Regions from separate parts of the Homo sapiens genome. Here all the other regions are linked to region 1. Evidence: promoter capture Hi-C in 16 types of primary human blood cells and fetal thymus (Javierre and others, 2016). All regions are on one chromosome and are shown on one strand. Each heading gives the region's core, a stretch centred on a gene start or on the middle of the fragment in contact. The rest is flanking DNA. Distances are from core to core; before and after follow the strand shown.

The links. Contacts are between HindIII fragments. The CHiCAGO score rates a contact against its expected background, and 5 or more counts as called.
Region 2: a fragment that was not itself captured here is called in contact with the fragment with the promoter of GSG1 in region 1 in 4 of 17 cell types (naive CD4 T cells, naive CD8 T cells, total B cells and 1 more); the score reaches 7.3 in naive CD4 T cells.
Region 3: a fragment that was not itself captured here is called in contact with the fragment with the promoter of GSG1 in region 1 in 1 of 17 cell types (naive CD4 T cells); the score reaches 5.5 in naive CD4 T cells.

The regions. Positions count from the first base shown.
Region 1 is chr12:13,100,970-13,105,400 of GRCh38, reverse strand. It overlaps GSG1 (germ cell associated 1), which reads left to right and starts at 1,734. Exons shown (of 7, transcript NM_001080555.4): 1 at 1,734-1,936. The coding sequence starts at 1,889. LOC105369666 (a long non-coding RNA gene) reads right to left here and starts at 3,971. Exons shown (of 2, transcript XR_931369.3): 1 at 3,661-3,971; 2 at 2,955-3,414. RefSeq lists silencers at 3,796-3,845, 4,126-4,355. The HindIII fragment of the contact is 5,406 bases long and covers 1-2,676 here.
Region 2 is chr12:12,791,243-12,795,673 of GRCh38, reverse strand. APOLD1 (apolipoprotein L domain containing 1) reads right to left here. Exons shown (of 2, transcript NM_030817.3): 2 at 4,208-4,431. Among named protein-coding and RNA genes, the nearest start is that of APOLD1, 7.8 kb to the right of the region's middle. The HindIII fragment of the contact is 8,759 bases long and covers 1-4,431 here.
Region 3 is chr12:12,832,819-12,837,249 of GRCh38, reverse strand. No RefSeq gene overlaps it. Among named protein-coding and RNA genes, the nearest start is that of DDX47, 22 kb to the right of the region's middle. RefSeq lists an enhancer at 1,164-2,363. The HindIII fragment of the contact is 4,823 bases long and covers 1-4,302 here.

The DNA.
Region 1 (4,431 bases), core at 485-2,984:
CAACATTTCTTAAAAAAATCATCTGTGCCCCAGTGATTACAGATATCACCTTTGTCCTATACTGGAAGTCTATACATAGCTGTGTTTATCTCTAGACTTTCTGTTCTCTTCCATTGGCCTGTTTGTCTAGTCATGCACCAGTACCACATTGTTTTTTTTTGGTTTTTTTGTTTTTTTTAATATACTTTAAGTTCTAGCGTACATGTGCACAACGTGCGGGTTTGTTACATATGTATACATGTGCCATGTTGTTTTAATCATAGAGGCTTTGTAGTATGCTTTATATCAATTAGGGCTAGCACCACCTCAGAGCTCTTCCTTTTCAGGGTTTTCCTAGCTAGTCTTGTGTATTTTTTTCCCATATAAACTTTAATATCAACTTGTGTTGGTCTTTTAAAATACTCATGGTTATTTGTATTAAATTTATAAATTAACTTATAACGGACATCTTGATCAATTTAAGATGTGCCAAAAATAAGGCATGTTGTTCCATTGGGGAAGTTATTGGCACTTCGAGATCCGATGTTCTCTCTTAGATACTTCCTTAGGTAGTTTAGGTCATTAAATAAAATAATAAATATTTCTTGAGCAGCTACTATGCCCTTGGCACTATATTAAGCACGATAGAAGTAAAAAACCAGATTCTGTCCTCAAGCAGCTTAGAATTTCACGAGAGAAACAGACTAACACACCAAAAGCAAAGCAGGCATGCTGTATGAGCAAAGAGGAAATGGGGAGTAAGGAGGGCTAGAGCCACAAGGTAGTGAGACTGGAATCATGTGCCCTGAGGTTGTGTAAGATTTAGGCAGGGCAGCAAGGAGAAGGAAGGGATCCCAGTGAGGGGAACCCTGGCAAAAGCTCAGAGGAGGACTGAGTGTGACAGGTTTCACAGGGCAGAGGGCCCCATCCAGACTGTTAGCTGGAATCCTGGATGAGGCCCTCTTCCAGTCTCCGAGAGTTATGCCTCCATATTAACAGTCCCCAAACACTAATTATGTATTCATTAAAATGATGTTAGTGAATGTTTGCTGGGTTTCCAGATACTAGCCCTTTAGAATGGTAATTTCTGTACATTGTTACCTTTTCAGGGAATGGCCTTGAGTTGTGCCATCCAATACAGTAGCTACTTGCCATGTGTGGCTGTGGAGCCCTTATGATATGGATAGTGCAACTGAGCAACTGAATTTCTAATTTTATGTAATTTGAATTCACTAAATTTTAATTTTAAAATGAAAGTAGTATAAAATATTTTTCATTAAACCCAACTTTATTGTGTGGGGAGGGCTACATTTTAAACATAGTATTGTATAACATATGATTGCTGTATCACAGTATGTGTGTCCAATTTACTTTTTTTAATGTGGCTACCAGAAAATTTTAAATGACATATGCTGCCCACATTGCATTTTGCTTTGACAGCACTGGTCTAGAGTCTCACAACTCAGTGTGGTCTGGCTGGACTCACGTGAGAGCCATCCCAGACTCTGCACTTGACTAAGTCAGGATCTGCACTTGACTAAGTTCCCCAGGTGAATCTTATGCACAATAAGATAAGCACTGATCTGGACGACCTCAGAAGACATCCAGCCACTGGTAGGTACCCAGCATGACCCCCCCCAATCCTTATGGGAGGAGGCTGAGGGAGCAACAGGGAGACCCCTGACTGCCGTTGTGACATCACAGAATAAACCCCACGGGTCACCCAACCCCGCCCTGGCTGGTGTCTGGCCCTCAGGACATCCTCTCCAATCCACCACACACCACCTTACCCCTCTGCTGGCAAGAGGGGACCTGATTCATCCTCACGCTAAACACTCATTCTACCCAACTGATTGAGACAGAACAGAAGATAAACTGAAACTTCTCTGCCTTCCCGCTGCAAGAGTGAATGAGCGATCCCTCTCAACTGACTCAAAATGTTTGCCTCACCCAGGAGGTAGGTACAGTGATTTTGAAATCTCATGAACATCTCATACACATATCTTTACTGCTGGATTTGTAACACAGGTTACACTAACTCATCAATTTCATGTATTTCACATGGTCACAGTAAAGAGCTTGGAAATGCACTATAGGGTTCTACAAAATGGAATGAAAATGTGTCACTCAGCCCAGTTTTCATAGATAAAACTGGTATGTCCATACCTTGGCCTATTACCTTTTCATCTTCCTTCATTAAAACTTCCATTTCTTCTTCCCTTGTCTCATCATCTTCCTTCTCCTTTCTGTTCCCAGGGCTCCCTATGCCTCTCCTTTTTTCCTTTCATCTGCATTATTCCCGTTGCCAAAATCTGGAGCCTGGTAAAGGCCCAGTAGCGGTGGCAACAATAGAGCTGTGTGTCACCCCAGTGAGCTGAAAGAGCAGACATCAAGCTCTATGCCAGAGAACAGTGGGGCATCCCCAAGGTCCTGCTGGAAGGCAGCTCTGATCTGGAACTGGGAAGGACAACACACAGTCAAGCTCTTTCTCGTCTCAGAGAATCCAGCAGAATCTTCAGGGATCCTTCCAGACCAGGAAGACTCTCACACTCTGCAGAGAAGTTGCGGCTTGTTTAGCATTTGACCTACATTCAGAAACGACCAGCCTCCCAACTTTCAGCTCTAAGGATTACTTAAAAAAACAAATGGTGTTCATTCTCAGATATCTTGCCTTTCTCAGGAGAGAAAAATGAAGCTTGCAATTAGCCAGCAAACTAGCACATACACAAACACACACACACGTACATACACTCCAACACAGGGAGCAATGTGGTATGTTGTTGACCAGCTGGAAGTTAGGATCTCAAAGGAAAGAACAGGATAACTTAAGAGGCACTTCTGGGACTGCAGAGCTGAGCTGGTGGTTCTGAAGAGCCATCGGAGTGTGGGTTCAGGCAGCTTCCCTAATTCAGAAGCAGCCCCAAGTGAATAGATGACAAAGAAGTGGATGTGAACATGACAGAAAAAGCCAGTCATGGCTTAGAATAAATTTTATTATTGTTCTTTATCAGTGGTTTTCCAGGAGAGACACAGAGGGAATATGGGAGCGTCTGGTTGCTAATATGTACCTGAGAAGTATAAAGTACACTTAATCCATTGCCTCAATCTGCAGGAGGTCCCATAAATCTGGCCTGCAATCTGTACATTTTGTTAAAGGTGACTGTGCCTTGGCTTTTACTGAGTGGCAGCCTGGTGATGAGTCAGGCGAACAGTCCTCAAAGATTGCCAGTGTTGACTTTACCATTTACTAGCTTTGTGGCCTTGAGCAAGTCAAACCCTCCGAATCGGAACCCTCACTTGTAGAATGGGGATGCCACGTCCCTTTCAGGCTGGTTGTGAGGATTAAGGAAGATGTCTGAAGGGTCTAGCAAGGTGTCTGCTGGTAGCACAGGTGCACTTCCCCTTCGTTTCTGCTTAGAGGCACTCTTCTTCTACCTGTTTTCGATTTTCACAGAACTAAGAAGGACAACTCTTTGCCCTCATTTACCCCTGAGGGTAAATTTAACCCTCTGGGAGGTTAAGTAACTTGGCCAAAATCCTCAGTGCAGTCGTGCATTGGGTCGTAAATAGAACTCGGATCTGCTGAGGGGTCTGGGTGGTGAAGTCCCGCCCTGGGGTCTTCCCAATGAGACGCAGACATCCCCTTCCCTTAGAACGGGAGCCTGGGACCCATAGCTTTACCGGGCAGAGGCAGGGAAATGCCTGACTTTGGACTCCAGCAGCTCGACACATCCCGAGCCCTGGCCCACCGGCCTGGGTGTAAGGAATCCCTCCGACTACCCAGTCTCTCCGCCCTCCCGCGCAGCCTCGCCAGGCGGCAGAGGGGACGCGCCTCAGGTGGCCTAGCGCCCCGGCCCAGCTCCGGGACACATGTGGCCCCGCCCTCCGCGGCTCGCCGGGTCCCTGGCCTGCCCTGGCAGTCCCTGCTCTCTGGGAGGGCCCCCGGGACACCGTTCTCAACCGACGGAGGAAGACCCAGAGGAAGAAACAGCCCGGGTACCCCCGCCCGACCCGGTCAGGAAGCCATGGGTGGTTGGCGGCCGCGGGGCGGGGCCTCGCAAACAATGCCAAACACGGCCGGCCTGTCGCCGCGGCAACGCGCCCCGCTGCTAGGCGACCGGGCGCCGTAGTAAACGGGAGAGACGGCGCGTTACTCATCAGGGTGGGAGGGCGCGCTCGGAAGTGGAGATGGCGCGGCCCAGGCACCCCCGAGAGGCCCCACCCGTTACGCCCCCGCCCCGCCCCGCGGTCCCCAAGCGCCCCCGGCCCCAGCCGGCCTGCTGGCGCCGTCACCCGCGCGTGAGCGATTGCCCCACAGGATGTGCAGATGTGGCTGCCCCTCTGATTCACTCCAGCTGCTTGGGGCCTGGAAGAAAGGCGGCTTCCTCTCCTGGAAATGACTGCATTAGCAAAAGTCCTCAAACAATTCCATTAAAAGGCGGAAAGGGAAAG
Region 2 (4,431 bases), core at 643-3,142, 310 kb after region 1:
CCACCGCGCCCGGCCGTGGAGCTGGTTTCATCCATACCAACATCCAGTCCAGGACGGGTGAGACCCTGGAAACGAACATGCTCAGTGAAGGGCTGTGTGACAAGGTCAGGGGAATGGCAGCCTGGGTCTGAGGCTCAGGGAAACTTGAACCTTAAGACTGGAGGAGAAAAAAAAGCTGTCAAGGAAACTAAATAAGAAAGGCTGGTGTCACAGAATTCAAGAAAAAGGGTGCTTTAAGAATTGGGTATTTGGCTAGGCGCAGTGGCTCACGCCTGTAATCCCAGCACTTTGGGAGGCCGGGGCAGGTGGATCACAAGGTCAAGAGATCGAGACCATCCTGAACAACACGGTGAAACCCCGTCTCTACCAAAAATACAAAATTAGCCGGGCGTGGTGGCACGAGCCTGTAGTCCCGGCTACTTGGGAGGCTGAGGCAGGAGAATCACTTGAACCCGGGAAGTGGGGGTTGCAGTGAGCCGAGATCGCACCACTGCACTCCAGTCTGGTGACAGAGCGAGACTCCGTCTCAAAAAAAAAAAAAAAAAGAAAAGAAAAAGAATTGGGTATTCAGCAAAGTCAAATGCTACAGAGAAGTTAGAAAGAATTAAAATTAAATAACTGTGTTTGCTATGCAAAACCTCAGGGGACAATGTTAAATTCAAATCAACCACAAAGCATTATGATTTTGAATAGTTTATGATACCCAACATCTTATTCCTATTCATACCTATCTACTCACCCACATACCTCCAACACTTTTAGTCCATAAGCTACTAGACTGCAATTGAGTACACACCCCAACAGGAAGAAATTTGACAAGCAGGGTCAGTAGTAGTTTCAATGGAATGACCCCAAGAAGTTTCATTTTTTGAGGTTTTAAAATCAGATCTAGATAGGCCTGTTCGACCAGTAATTCCTTCATTCATGTCTGTGTCATCTCTACTGATAACTTCAGTTCCAGCGCATCTACAGTTAGCAAAAAGTTCTTATAAATCATGTCCTTCCTCTTCAGGTGTTTTGTTCACCAGAATTTTGCCATGTTTGGGAGATTTGGGGGAGCATCACAAAATATTATTCTGTAAATAGGCTTTGTTTTGTTTTGTTTGAGACAGAGTTTTGCTCTGTCGCCTAGGCTGGAGTGCAGTGGCGTGATCTCAGCTCACTGCAACCTCTGTCTTCTGAGTTCAAGCGATTCTCCTGCCTCAGTCTCCCGAGTAGCTGAGATTACAGGTGCCTGCCACCATGCCCAGCTAATTTTTGTATTTTTAGTAGAGACGGGGTTTCACCATGTTGGCCAGGCTAGTCTTGAACTCCTGACCTCAGTTGATCCTCCCACCTCAGCCTCCCAAAGTGCTGGGATTACAGGTGTGAGCCACTGTGCCCAGCCACCATAAAAACCCATACATAGGTTTTTATGATCAGAGCAAAAGTTTTATAACTTTCAAATCACACCCACACTGTTTATTATAAATACTAGTGACTTGCAAAGCTATATTTTATTTTTTTCTTATTGACTAGCCTACTGGCATAAGATTACTCATCCTAGATGAGACTGTTACTGCCAGGAGATGTTTTTATTTTTTTTGAGACAGGTTCTTGCTCTGTTCCCCAGGCTGGCTGGAGTGCAGTGGCCCAATCACGGTTCACTGCAACCTCGACCTCCTGGGCTTAAGTGATCCTCCCACCTCAACCTCCTGAGAAGCTGGGACTATAGGTGTGCAACACCACACTCAGCTCATTTAAAAATTATTTGTACAGATGAGGTCTCACCATGTTGCTCAGGCTGGTCTCTAACTCCTGGACTCAAGCAACCCACCTGCCTCGGCCTCCCAAGGTGCTAGGATTGGCTAGGCGCAGTGGCTCACACCTGTAATCCCAGAACTTTGGGAGGCTGAGATGGGCAGATCACCTGAGGCCAGGAGTTCAAAACCACCCTGGCCAACATGGCAAAACCCTGTCTCTACCAAAAATACAAAAATTAGCCAGGCATGGTGGTGGGCGCCTGTAATCCCAGCTACTCAGGATGCTGAGGTGGGAGAATCGCCTGAACCCGAGAGGCACAGGTTGCAGTGAGCTGAGGTCATGCCACTGTACTCCAGCCTGGGCGAAAAGAGCAAAACTCCGTCTAAAAAAAAAAAATCAGAAAAGCCAAGAGCATTGGATGGGCACAGCGGCTCATGCCTGTAATCCCAGCACTTTGGGAGGCCAAGGTGTGTGGATCACTTGAGGTCAGGAGTTCAAGACTAGCCTGGCCAACATGGTGAAACCCCATCTCTACTAAAAATACACACACACACAAAAATTAGCTGGGCATGGTGGTGGGCGCCTGTAATCCCAGCTACTCAGGAGGCTGAAGCAGGAGAATCGCTTGAACCCAGGAAGCGGAGGTTGCAGTGAGCTGAGATCATGCCACTGGACTCCAGCCTGGGTGACAGAGCAAGACTCCAAAAAAAAAAAAGGAAAAGAATAGCTAAGAGCATAACTCTGGAGTCAGGCTGCCAGAATTCAAATTCTGGGGCACCTCATGCTGGCAATGCAACCTCTCAAATTCCTTACTTTATCTAATAATATAGGGTAATTATAGTGTGCACACCATAAGATTTTTGTAAGGTAAATGAAATGATACAGGTCAAATCGTACTTAGAAGAGTATCTAGTGAGTTCTCAATAAATGTTAGCTATTGTTATTGTTAAATATCCCACATGTATGTTCAATATTATTGAAATGTCATTTTATTTAAGCACTGAAAAAAATATTGTTTTTAAATGATATTTTGAGAGTGCAGTTTTAATAAAAAGTGAGGGCAGAAAGAAATGTCTGCTTATCAACCGGGGAGCGTAGAAAAAGAAGTTTCGCCTAAAAGAAAGACTTTAGACATCACCCCTACCCTTTTTGTGTAGCTTCTCCCAGTTATAATTATTTTGGTGAATTTGGCAACCGTATTCACACAAATGCTGGAGGAGGCCAGGATCTGGCTGCTCCTGTGTGTAAGGGAGGCAGATGCCTTGGCCGTGACCCATGGCTAAAGCTCAGGGGGAATCAGGTCACAGGCCTGCCTGTCCTCCCACCTCTGGGGTTTTAGTGTAAATACAAAATTGGATTAAACATCATTTTCTGCAGATGTAGCTTCATATAGATAATCTCTATGCGTGCAGGCAAAGACCACATTAGAGGGCCTTCTCTCCACAACCCGGTGCTAATGCTAGTCAGGTTTGGGGGTGCTGAGGACCCCTAATGTGCATTCCTGGACGATGGGTCTCGCTTCATCAGCACGATTTCCCCTCTCCTAACAGCTCTCTGGTTGCTAAGAGATTGTTTTCAGATCTAAGGGCTCACTCTTTGTCCTATTCCAGACCACAGCAGGGTTTACTTTCCCTCTTATGAGTTTGCCAGGAGCAAAAAGTAACATCCCAACCTCCTGTCAACTCAACAAGAGATTTATTGCAATTAACTAAAAGGACACTTGTTACTACAGGAATACCATATGCTTCAGCAAAGATAGGATCCCAGCTTGCGGCTGGCCTCTGCAAACAGTCAGGGGCCTGCCAACACAGCCTTTTTTGGTTGTACAGTTATTAACAGTGCAGCCTCCAGACCCAGGAATGTTTCCAAGGTGCAGCTGGCACTGAGATAGTGAGGTCGTCTCCAGAGTAGTCGTCCCCAACTGGCTGCCGCAACCACAATAGGCTTTTTGTTTAAATTGCTGGACCCCCTACTTAATGATCACCCTCCTTTTCTTTCTTACCAAGAGAATCTTAGGTATATTAGGGGCAGCGTTGTTCTCAGCTAAAAATACTACATTTCCCAGCCTGCCTTGCATGGTCAAGATCGGTGGCTTGCAAGGTGAAGTCCCTCAGAGATTTACGGGAAAGTTTTCTTTCCTGATATACATGCTGCCCTTCACCCTCCCTGCCCACCTCTCTTTAGTGTTTGGATGTTGTGAAGGCTAATTTGGCTGATTCTAGGTTTCCTTTCAATTCCTTCCCAGGTTGTAATTATGTTCAAAGGTTTTGAGACTGCTGGAAGTCTGATTTCTAGGCAAAAGGGAATTCCTGTGTATGCATTGATTATTAAAAAAAAATGATTCATATAGTTTGATCTGAATATTCTAAGTGAAAATGATTAAACATCTGCCCTTTTTCAAAGTTACTAATTCATACACAAGGAAACATAGAACTAGGAAATTAATTACAGAAAGATAAAAAAATTTGAGGAATGAGCAATTTATTTCAATAAAGAGAAAGCATTAATTTTGCTACAGTGGGAAAAAATGAACTCAAGAGTTGCTACATTTAACTGTATCCCCATTTATCTCTGCACGATGTCTTTATCTCAGTGTCTCAATTCACACTAAAATATTGAATGAGAAATACACCACGTTGGCTGATTGCTTGACATGTCTGATTTAGGGAGACTTCTACAACCACTCCT
Region 3 (4,431 bases), core at 642-3,141, 270 kb after region 1:
CCCACTGTGAATCACTCGGCTCCAAATTAAAACTCCTTCCCTCTCCGGAGTGGTCTTTTCTTCCTTCTGCCATCTACTGGTGAAAACAAGAATGTCTTATTTTCTTACCTGCCTGTTGCCAATTTGAAAATAGCTTGGAACCTGAAAGTTCATTTGCATAGTACTTACTTGTTGTGTGGAACATACTGCATGAGTAATATGGAATTACACATATATACATACACACACACACACACATAACAAACAGTGTATTTAGTGTAAAGGGCAGAGGCTTGGAATCCAATTTGGCTTCAAATTTTTACTTAGCCCTTTACCAGCTGTATGATCTGGGTACGCTGCCAGTCTTCATCTATGCTAAAAGCCACAATTAATGATCATTATAATGACTAACACTTACTGATTGTTATCATGAGCCACAGTATAGTTCATTTAACTTCACAATGCTGTACTATAACTGTGTGTCTTCAGATAAGAAGGTTGAAACACAGGAAGGTTTAACAACTTGTCCAAAGTCTCACAGTTAGTCAGGGGCCGATTTGGCAAACTGGCTCCATAGCTCATATTGGGAACAATAATATCGACTGTTCGGGATTGTTCAAAGAACTAGAAATAATACAGGTCAAGCCGCCTGACACATCTTAGGTTTCAGAAAATGACAGATATTGAACATTTACTGCGTATGGGCCCTGTATGATATTAGTAATATCCACAAATTAGGCGCGGTCCCTGCCTAGTAGGAAGCACAATCACTATACAATACTAAGGCTAAGTTCAGCAAAAATAGCATCTGACTCTTTTTTCAGTATTGGTTTCCTAGTATCTGGCACACTGGCTAGGATATGGTGGACACTGGAAGGGAAGGAGGAAAGAAACAGAATTTTAAAAACTAGGTTCGAGATTCTGTGAGGCAGGCCAGGTGTGGTGGCTCACACCTGTAATCCTAGAACTTTGGGAGGCCGAGGCAGATGGATCACCTGAGGTCGGGAGTTCGAGACCAGCCTGACAAACATGGCACCCTGCCTCTATTAAAAATACAAAAATTAGCCCGGCATGGTGGCACATGCCTGTAATTCCAGCTACTTGGGAGGCTGAGGTGGGAGAATTGCTTGAATCTGGGAGGTGGAGGTTGCAGTGAGCCAAGATTGCACCATTGCACTTCAGCCTGGGTGACAGAGACTCCATCTCAAAAAAAAAAAAAAAAAAGATTCTGTGACAGAGATAGGCTTGACGGTCTTCTTTCCATATTAACAAATGAGAAAACTCAAGGTTCAGAGAGGTTTAGTAACTCCCACAAGGTCACACAGCAACAGTGAACAGTCCGATGACTTACACTTTCCCCACCTGTTCCTTTCCCAATTCCTCCTGCTCCTTCCGGCCTCTTTGACGGCACTGGCAGATGATTGAAGGGTGACAGTGACAGGAGACATCCTTTGTGTTTGGATGGTATAAGGGGATGGATGGCTACGAGCAAACAAAAGCTCCAAGACTCTGAGCAGACCTTGGGGCCCACCTCCTAGAGACTGCATGGTTCCAGAGGAGCCCATTTTCTTCCTGTCTCCTTTCCACTTGGCACCAATCAGCTCTTCACTTCAGGTGAGACTGTTCAGTGCTATTTCCCAGACTTCAAGTTTCTGCAGTTATTTTTAGCGGTAGTTTTAGTGCATACCTGGGATAGGTGAGGCATGAAAAGGAATGCGGGTGTGGGTAACCCTTCAATCTCTAGAGTTATGGTCTGAGTCTCTTGTCATTCCAGCTAAAGAGGGGTGACTCACACCCTGATTTCTTACCTGCCCAGAGGCTAGATTTCACCCTAAGAACCATGTGGATTAGAATGTCTTGTATATTCTCTTAGTTTTAAGGACACAGTTTCTTGATGTTGCTTTGTTACCCACTTTTGATAACTTGGATCCTTTCATTTTCTGTAACCAACACCACAGCCTGTGGTTCTTTCTGGTCCTATTTCCCAGGGTTTTGAGGGACCCAAGGTAGATAAAGTCTCCAATTTAGGTTTGTGGATGCCTCTGCAGGCAGAAAGCTACTTGGAAAACACTCTGTCTGTAAGCAAGATGTCCTTAAAGAGCCAGCCAAGTTCTGGGATATTCATTGCATTTTTTGAGAGACTGAGAAAGAATAATCATGATCTAGTTGGTCTAGGCCCCTCTTAGCAACTACAATCCCCTCAGAGTGCCCTCAGAGAACCTGCTTCATGGTTCCCTGGAATTCTGGGCCTGCTTTAAGCCTGAAATAGCCTATCCAACTGAAACCCTCTCACTAGGATCCTAGGACCCCTTCATAAGATAGAGAGGTGTTTTCCTCATTCTCACCCTCACTCAGCTCTGTACAGAGGAAGTAAAACTAGGCTAGCCAGTACCATGAAGCCATTGTTACTGCAACTGCATACAATGAATACTATATAAATCAGTTTTATAATTCAGATGAGAAATAAGAAGACATTTTCTCTGGGCTGATATCATATGACTATTCCAAGATACTCCCTTTATTAAGTCATAAAAGTTAGATGTATCTGTTTACAATTAGGGTGGGAGAAGATTGTTTTGAAGCTCACAGTTTCTTTTTTTTTTTTTTTGAGATGGAGTCTCGCTCTGTCGCCCACGCTGGAGTGCAGTGGTGCGATCTCGGCTTACCGCAAGCTCTGCCTTCCGGGTTCACGCCATTCTCCTGCCTCAGCCTCCCCAGCAGCTGGGACTACAGGCGCCCGCCAACACGCCTGGCTAATTTTTTTGTATTTTTAGTAGAGACAGGGTTTCACCGTGTTAGCCAGGATGGTCTCAATCTCCTGACCTTGTGATCCGCCCGCCTCGGCCTCCCAAAGTGCTGGGATTAGAGGCGTGAGCCACCGCGCCCGGCCGGCGAAGCTCACAGTTTCTTAAATCAGGAATGCAGAACTAAGGAGTTGTACCAAGAAGGGAATAGCAGAGGGGTCAGGGACCTCGTTCCCCACTCCTAATCTAGAGCTTTTGGTATCTTGACTGCAAAGGCAATTTACATGTATTTAAGAGAATGACATTTTAACGTTCTTCTATACTCCTATTAATACCTAACCAAATACTTCTGAAGACCCATCTCCTGTCTTCTCCACACTTTGTAACTAGTTCTCCCCACCATTTTATTCCGTAATTGCAACCTTAAACCCCGCAGAATGTAGCAGAGTCCACAAAGATGCCTTGTACTGGGCTGAATAGTATCCCACGAAAAGTCATGTCTACCCATGTATTAATCTGTTTTCATGCTGCTGATAAAGACATACCTGAGACTGGGTAATTTACAAAGAAAAAGAGGTTTAATGGATTCACAGTTCCACGTGGCTGGGGAGGCCTCACAATCATGGTGTAAGGTGAAAGGCACGTCTTACACGGTGGCAGGGAAGAGAGAATGAGAGCCAAGCAAAAGGGGAAACCCCTTATAAAACCATCAGATCTTGTGAGACTAATTCACTACCATGAGAACAGTATGGGGGAAACCGCCTCCAGGATTCAATTACCTCCCACCGGGTCCCTCCCACAACACGTGGGAATTCTGAGAGTACAATTCAAGATGAGATTGGGGTGGGGACACAGCCAAACCATATCAACCCAGAACCTCAGGTGACCTTATTTGGAAATAGGATCCTCGCAGATGTAATTAGTTAAGATGAGGCCAGGGTGGATTAGGGTGCACCCTAAATCCAACAACTAGTATCCTTCTAAGAAGGCCTTGTGAAGACACAAAGATATATGGGGCAGAAGGCCATGTGTGGATGGAGACAGGGATCGGAGTCATGTTGCTACAGCCAAGAAACACCAAGGACTGCAGGCAACCAAGGGGCAATGCTGGCTAAGAAGCCAGGAAGGACTCTTCTCTAAAGGTGTCAGAGAGAACATGGCCCTGCCCACACCTTAATTTTGAACATCTTAAAATCCAGGACCATGAGAGAATAAAGTTGTTATTGAAAGTCACCCAGTTCCTGGTACTTTGTTTCAGTAGTCCTAGGACATTAAAACGTACTTCTGTAAGGGTATCAGCAGCACGACCTATCTCACCTTAGAGGACAGGAGAGCACAGGAATGACTGACTAATAGAGCAAACCTACATGTCTTGTTTTTACTTACTGGTGGATCACGTTCATTTCTGCGCCTCCTGCCTTTTGCAATGGCATCTGTGCATTTTCTGCTGGGGACTCCATGCTCTGGACCTGTTAATATACCTGAAGACACACCCGTCCACATTTCTTTCACTAGTGTCCTTTCTTCCCATCCTAGCAAAGCATAATTATGCATATACATTAGAGATGGCAGTTAAGCTTTCGAGTAGTGGTTTTTAACCTTTTTAGTCTCCCCAAAAATATGCATATTCCTCAGTGGTCCACAAACCCAGGCCAGAGACCACTGCCTATTTGGAAAGTTCAGACATCCTTGAGGATGATTCCAATCT